Linked DNA regions of Homo sapiens: region 2 is linked to region 1. Evidence: promoter capture Hi-C in human tissues and cell types (Jung and others, 2019). All regions are on one chromosome and are shown on one strand. Each heading gives the region's core, a stretch centred on a gene start or on the middle of the fragment in contact. The rest is flanking DNA. Distances are from core to core; before and after follow the strand shown. Region 1 holds the start of SERF2 (small EDRK-rich factor 2). Region 2 overlaps SORD (sorbitol dehydrogenase).

Evidence for each region. The method cuts DNA at HindIII sites, captures the fragments that hold promoters and counts their contacts. A contact is called where the count stands out against the background at its distance.
Region 2: a fragment that was not itself captured here is called in contact with the fragment with the promoter of SERF2 in region 1 in 1 of the 25 tissues and cell types used here (lymphoblastoid cells).

The regions. Positions count from the first base shown.
Region 1 is chr15:43,790,856-43,794,442 of GRCh38, reverse strand. SERF2 (small EDRK-rich factor 2) reads right to left here and starts at 2,123. Exons shown (of 3, transcript NM_001018108.4): 1 at 2,060-2,123; 2 at 1,360-1,468; 3 at 1-733. The coding sequence starts at 2,066. The coding sequence ends at 670. It overlaps SERF2-C15ORF63 (SERF2-C15orf63 readthrough), which reads right to left and starts at 2,467. Exons shown (of 6, transcript NR_037673.1): 1 at 2,060-2,467; 2 at 1,360-1,468. SERINC4 (serine incorporator 4) reads left to right here. Exons shown (of 12, transcript NM_001258031.2): 12 at 1-281. MIR1282 (microRNA 1282) reads left to right here and starts at 684; the gene lies at 684-784. RefSeq lists enhancers at 122-975, 1,311-1,640, 1,429-2,628 and a silencer at 2,361-2,440. The HindIII fragment of the contact is 8,897 bases long and covers 1-3,587 here.
Region 2 is chr15:45,028,479-45,032,304 of GRCh38, reverse strand. All of the region lies in intron 1 of SORD (sorbitol dehydrogenase), which reads right to left. Among named protein-coding and RNA genes, the nearest start is that of SORD, 7.2 kb to the right of the region's middle. RefSeq lists an enhancer at 740-1,034. The HindIII fragment of the contact is 5,495 bases long and covers 1-3,826 here.

The sequences.
Region 1 (3,587 bases), core at 874-3,373:
ACAGCAGCTGACCACGGGAAGTCGGTGAGCAGCAGGATTTTTTGGCCAACTTTCAAGCAGACGAACAAACTGAGGAAGAATGAGGAAAAGAGGCATAAACACAGATCTTGCAGCATTCACTCTTAGGCCAACTCCATCCTAGAGATGGTGTTCAAGGGTGGGGAACAAAAATCACAGAAAAGAAGTCTCTATGGTTCTTAGAGGATTCCTCTACTGCATATCCGGAGTACTTGTTTGGTTGTCATTGTATAATAAAGGCTTCTTCTGTGATGTTTCACTTATTAAGTCTACATACCCACAATCTGAATCTAAAGAGTTCTCCCTTTTTTGGTGGGAAAGGGCAGTCATTCTTCCAACCCCATCCCCCCAAGTCCCCAGTCAAACCAGGCGCTCAAGGAATTACAAAGCTACTTTTAATACTTTGGGGTGAGCCCCACAGGAATAAAAAACACTGGGAAGGGGTAACCCCCTCACCCCCGGGAGTGGCCCAGGGGGAGAGAGGCTACCTGAGGGGAAGGAAGCACAAAAGGGACCCGCTGCAGACTCAGGGCAAAGGGAATGCCATCGGTGCTGGGACCTGTGAGCACTACAGGAGGAAACGCGAGCGTGGTGGGACTGGCTCCAGGCACACAGGCGAAGGGCAAGAGGGTTGGACACGAAGCCACAAAGCTACTTGGGTTCCTCCTTCTTCTCGTTTGCCTTTTTCTGCTTCTGCTGCATGATCTCCGAGTCCCTGGGGGTAGAGATGATGGGGCACTGGGAGGTACCAGAGGGCAAAAAGGACAAGATGCAGGGGGATGAAGGGCACAAAGGATAAGATGGAAGTGGATGGGACTAAGTTCAGCGTTTGGCTGCTGTACTCCCACCCTAGGAGAACAAGAGGAAGAGAGCTGAGGCTCAAAAGGCGACCAGTCTCCATCTGGCTGTTGCCCAAGGGGTCAGAAGTCTGGTGACACAGGCCCAAGGGTCTCTATTCTGTATTGAGGACCACACCCAGCAACACCAGTGAGGAGGTTGGGAGAAGGGAGGAGAACCGAACAGCAAGGAGGGCCAAAAGTACTGGGCTGCCGTAACCACAACTGTATTTGAAATGTGAAGCTCCCTGCCCTTGCCCTTAAGGTCAGACCCAGGGACGCTCAGAAATCAGACTGAGGGCAGGCGCCCGCCCCCGTCCTTTCCTGTAAGGCTGTGAGCTAACAATTTGGAGGGTGGGGAGGAAATAAAACCCTAGAGGAAGCAATGCACTCTGCTCCTCACGACTAGTCCACATTCAAGCCCTGAGGTAGCTCTCTTTCCTTCTATAACCCTTGGTCTAACCCAGGTCTCCACCGTCCCTTTCCCTCCCCTCCCTGGGGCTACCTCTGCTTGCGGGCGGCAGCAGAAAGCCCGTCATCTCGGCGCTTTCCCTTAACCGAGTCGCTCTGCTTTTTCATATTCTTCTGGCGGGCGAGCTCACGCTGGTTACCGCCTAAGGAAAGAAAATTAAAGGTGAGACGCGGGGGCCGCTCTGCCCACACACCGGCGACCCTTCTACCCCAGCGCGGCCAGCAGCAGGATCCAACACCACTTCAATCTCCGGGCCCCGACAACGGCCCATCGAGGCCCAGGCTGCTTGGGGTAGGGGGGAGTGGCGAATCTGCCACGGGCCAGGTCAAAATACGGACTAGAGAAGGGAGGTCCCAAGGGGCCAGCTGGAGGCGTGTTTTGGGGCGGCGTGGGGCCCAAACAGCTGGCAAGGTGTGTGTGGACGGTTTGGGTCTCCGTGGGGGATGGGCTGGCTTGTGGAGTGGGGGCTCTGGGCCTATCACAGGGGCGCTGGCCTTCTCCTTACACCGCGGAAGATCCGGGAGGGCCTATGCCTAACCCGGGAGGGTGGTCCCGTGAAGTAGCCGTGGGCAAAGGGCTCGATTTCCGGGCACCGAGTGTGAGGGTGGCCACAGAGCGCGCCCAGAGAAACGCCTTGCTAGGGAAGCTACGGAAGGTCAAAGCCGGCGCCTCGCCGGTGGTGTTTAGGGTGAACGGAAAGAAAAGGGCAAGGAGAAGGGGGCTCGGTGCTCACGGGTCATGGCGACGGCAGCGGCTCCAACCTGCCTCCGTTACGTCCCCTCGTTCTGTCGGACGTTGCAGGTCCCGCCCCTTCTGGCAACGTAGCACAGTCGTTCCTTTCCTCCCCGCCCCTTCGCGCCCGGGAGCCGGCTCCCATTGGACAAGAAAAAGCACGTGGATCCACGGGTCGTGCTTGAGCCGGGGTGGGTAAGTGGCGGAGGGTCGCAGGCGGAGCGCTCAGCGTGGGGCGGGGCTTCCCGAGTGAGACGTAGGGACGGGCCTGGAGAAACTAGGCCGGGTCACGTGGGCAGGTTGGGGGTGGAGGGGTGCGGCTGGCGATGTGGCGCTCCCGCGGGCTCGAGCACGTGACCGTGCAGAGTGACCTCATGCGGGGACAGTTTGGGGTACTGACAAAGTCGCCCTGAAAGAACGCCCGTAGACAAGAGGGCGGGGTTTCAGCCAGTTCTGTGTTACGAGTACTCTACTACTAAACTTGTGCTTACTTAGGACCACCTCTCAGCCACTTATTTGGACACGAGTTGTTCACAGCTCGCTTAAAATCAAGTACAAACACAACTTCAGAAACCCGCTTCTACTCCCATTGTCCCCTTCCACGCCCCTTCACTGTAGAAAATCGCAGCAACATCTGGTATTTCCTAAAACTCTACCCTGTTCGTTTTCCCCCAGAAACTTTAAATGTGAACATGCAGCTTGGAAGTATTGGAGGACTCCAAAAGTCACAGACTATGGAGTTGGATCAGTGGCTGAGATTAGATAATTCACATATTCGCTTTTCCCCTCTGGAGCTTTTCTTACTGTACCATCGCCACCAGCCACCCGGTTTTGTATTAAGACCCTGGAGGGCCGGGCGTGGTGGCTCACGCCTGTAATCCCAGCACTTTGGGAGGCTGAGGTGGGCAGATCAGAAGGTCAGGAGTTCGAGACCAGCAGCCTGACCAACAATGGTGAAAACCCTAAAAATACAAAAAATTAGCCGGGCGTGGTGGCGCGCCTGTAATTCCAGCTACTTGGGAGGCTGAGGCAGGAGAATCGCTTGAACCCGGGAGGCGGAAGTTGCAGTGAGCCGAGATCGCGCCATTGCACTCCAGCCCAGGCGACAGTGCGAGATCCCGTCTAAAAAAAAAGTTAATAAGAATTAGCCGGGCGTGGTGGCGGGCGCCTGTAGTCCCAGCTACTCAGGAGGCTGAGGCAGGAGAATGGCGTGAACCCGGTAGATGGAGCTTGCAGTGAGCCGAGATCGCACCACTGCACTCTAGCCTGGGCGACAGAGCGAGACTGCATCTCAAAAAAAAAAGAGTTAATAAGAAAGGCTGGGCAAGGTGGCTCACGCCTGTAATCCCAGCACTTTGGGAGGCAGAGGCGGGTGGATCACGAGGTCAGGACATCGAGACCATCCTGGCTAACACGGTAAAACCCCGTCTCTACTAAAAATACAAAAAAAAAAAATAGCTGGGTGTGGTGGCAGGCGCCTGTAGTCCCAGCTACTTGAGAGGCTGAGGCCGGAGAACCGTGTGAACCCA
Region 2 (3,826 bases), core at 1,305-3,804, 1.2 Mb before region 1:
ACATAACATAAAATTTACCATCTTAAATCTTTTTAAGTGTATAATTCAATATTGTTGTCTATATTCACATTGTTATACAACAGATCTCTAGAATTTCACATCTTGTAAACCTGAAACTGAATACCTGTTAAGTAACAACTGCCCATTTTACCCCCTCAGCAGCCCTTAACAAACACCATTCTACTTTTTGTGAGTTTGGCTACTTATTTCATATAAGTGGAATCATACACTATCTGTCACTTTGTCACTGGCTTGTTTTTATTAACATAATATTCTCAAGGTTTATTTTTAACACAGCATGTGACAAAACTTTTTTCAGGGCTGAATAATATTCCACTATATATCTATATGCCACATTTAAAAAATGTTCATTACTTGAATAACATCTGGGTTGTTTCCACCAACAAAATGGAGTCACAATGATAAGTGACTCAGCTCACAGTGAAACTGCTGACTGCTCAAAGTGATAAGCATATGTATGTAGGACTGAGATGACAACACCTGCTGTGGCCAGGCAACCCCAAAACTTGATAAGAAAGGGAAGCCAAGGCCAGGCGGGATGGCTCACACCGGTGATCCCAGCACTTTGGGAGGCCGAGGCAGGTGGATTGCTTAAACTCAGAAGTTCCAGACCAGCCTGGGCAACATGGTGAAACCCTGTCACCAAAATTAATTTTATAAAATAAAATAAGAAAGTGAAGCCAAAAGATGGCTAAGTTATGACAATGGACATTCCTATGCAGGGTATAAAAACAGCAAAGAAAGTGACCATGGCCGAGAGCCTGTAGAAGCTCTGCCCGTGAGAACTCTGAGGCCTCCTCACGAACAGAGGCTGCCATAAGTTCTGCTGGGAGAAGAACAGCAACAACACTCCTCCCACTTTGTTGTTTCAAGGGAAATCCAAATCTGTTCATCAGTCAGCGTGCTGGTCTCTGGAGCTACTTGCCACGGTTCATTCCCTGTTGTTTTTTTTTTTTTGTCGTTGTTGTTGTTTTAAGAGATGGGTTCTCATTCTGTAGCCCAGGCTGGCACATTAATAGCTCACCACAATCTCGAACTCCTGGGCTCAAACGATCCTCCTACTTCAGCCTGCTGAGTAGCTGTGACTACAGGAGTGTGCTATCACACCCGGCTACTTTTTACATTTTTTGTAGAGACAAGGTCTTTCCCAGGCTGGTCTCAAACTCCTGGCCTCAAGTGATCCTCCCACCTCAGCTTCCCAAAGTGCTGAGATTACAGGTGTGAACCACCATGGCTGCCCCGACCTCCCCTATCACTGCCTGTGTGTGTTGAATATATTTGCATGATCGTTGGTATGTGAAAGCCTCACATTTAATTGGCCATTGAGTTATTGTGAAACCTCTGGGCTCCTGGTCGGAGTCAGCACAAGTAGGCTGGAACCTGACATGACAGCTGTTCAACAGGCAGTTGGTTACTGGGACTGGTGCTCAGGCATCACCTCCTGCAAGAAGCCTCCCCTGTCCTCACCAGGCTGGAGAGGTGACTCCTTTCTCTCCTTTGCACTTCTCCAGCACCTAGCATTGAATCCACACAGGATAGTTAAGGACTATTTAATTTTCATCAGGGATAAATATATTAAAATTTCCTCCTAATTCAAAGTGTATGAACATAACCATACATGATCTTATTAAATGGTTCTATATATGGAGCAAAAATTCTAAGTCTCTGAGCTTTGTCAGATGCTCTAGTCTGTTCGTGATCTTGATAAGTGCTCACTGTGTTCGGGTCTATGTAATTGAATATTTCTGTGTTTTTTAAAATTGTTGAGTTGAATATTACTTTGCAAAATTTGAATGTATTTTCCCTGGTAATTAATGTTCTTAGTGCAAACCTGATTTGGGGAAAACTGCCAGCTTCAACAGCCACACTAAAAGACTTCTAAGTTAGATGCTAATATTGTATCTACGTGTACATATTTCTCCTCCTTCTTAATTTCTGTTGTGCAGTTTTAAAGAGAAATTTCCCCTACATCCATAATTCTAGGGTCTCCCCTTAGAATAGGGCTGCTTTTATGGAATGGTAAAATCCTATTTGTGATATTGCTTGCTTCTTCTCCTGCTTTTGATAGCAAAAGGAGGTGGCCAAATGCCTAGGCAGATAGGGGTGGGTACCCAGTGAAATTCCACCTCCAAGTAGAAGACAGTTTAAAGCCGGAAAGCCAAGCTACAAGTTAAATCCTGGGACTGGATCAAGAACTTGTCTTCCTGTTTGGACGCTTTCCTCTGATTGATCCCCACCCTTCACCTATTTTACATATACCTAACCTTTCCTAAGTAGTTTTCTACACTGTTTTGCCCACCTTTGCATGGTGTCTTCACGTTAACCTTTTTTGCATACTCACAAACCCATCAATACGCACTTCCTATCCTGTGCCTATAAAGATCCCAGACTCAGTTGGTAGAGGGGGAAATGACCTGACTTCGGGGAGGAGACAACCTGACTTCTGGGAAGATGACCTGCCCTTCCCATCCCCTCTCCAGTTCCCTTCTCTGCTGAAAGCCATTTTCATTGCTCAGTAAAATTCTCCACCTTCACCATCCTTCAATCATCTGCGTGACCTCATTCTTCTTGGACACTGGACAAGAGCTCAGGGCCCACCAAGTACAGGTACCCAGAAAAGGCTGTCAAACTGGCCCTTTGCCCCTCACCAGTGGCATGCCCCGTGCAGCGAGGCAAGGGGCCAACTGAGCTGCTAACATGCCACCATCTGCAGACGGTGGAAATAAAGGAGCACTGTAACAGCCCCTCTGGGGCTTCAGGGTCATGGACACCCTTACCTGGGTGCTGCTGCATTCCCCTCAAGGAGCTTGCTCCTGTGTCAGTGCCTGGAGCAGCTGGCTGGATCCCGCACTCACTCATTCATGTGCTCCCTCCCACAAGGGGTTGAGCACGGTAGGCCCAGTACTCCACAGGTCTGGCGAAGGGGCCAAGAAAAAGCTTGCATCACTTTGAGAGGAAAATGCTACCTTTGTGCCTCATGGTCTTTCACAGACAAAGGCATTGCCTTTCCAGAGCTGTTGGTGGAGGTGGGAGTGTTTACTGGATTTAATTTCCTGTTTTGAATTTGAAATGGTATGTCCAGTTTGGGTTTTGTTTTGTTGTTAAAACATAATTAAGATAAAAGCAAGAAAGATGGTTCTTTGGGCTACTTACTGCTACCCAATTTCTCTTTTTCTGGAGGATTTTCACATTCTCTTTTCACTCTCAAGTGTCTCTGACTTGTAAGGGTTAAGTAGCCTGCATCTCATCACTATCAGGGTAATCTGGTTTAATCCAGCTCCTGCTTCATGACTATCAGCCCCTTTAATCTGATCACATAGAAGCAGCTGGCTCAGAGAAACAGACATGATGCACAGGACCATCTGAGCTGCCCATGTTCATGCCCTCTCATTATACCATCCGCTTCTCACCCCAAAATCTTAACAGTAAAGTATAGACATTTTGAATGTGCTGTATTACAGATATAGATTTATCTTATTTTTAAAAATAAATAAGAGTATTTAAAAATGCTTAGGTCAAAGCAATTCTTTTGACCTAAGGTATAATACGTTGCCTCAATGGACAAAAACTCAAGAAATATCTTCATGGACCTCCGAGTAATGTTTAAACTTGATGCCAATATATTAATTTTTCTGCCCTTTATAATTAAACAACATTAACCCATCATTCTGAAATTATTATTTTTCCCTTTAATTTATTGTCTCCTCATATAGCTGATCATAACAAAAATCTGACTACATCCCCTCCATGGTGTTGTTTCCTGGAAATGGAGCCTGTTTTGTTCCTATACTTCTCCCTGTTCAGA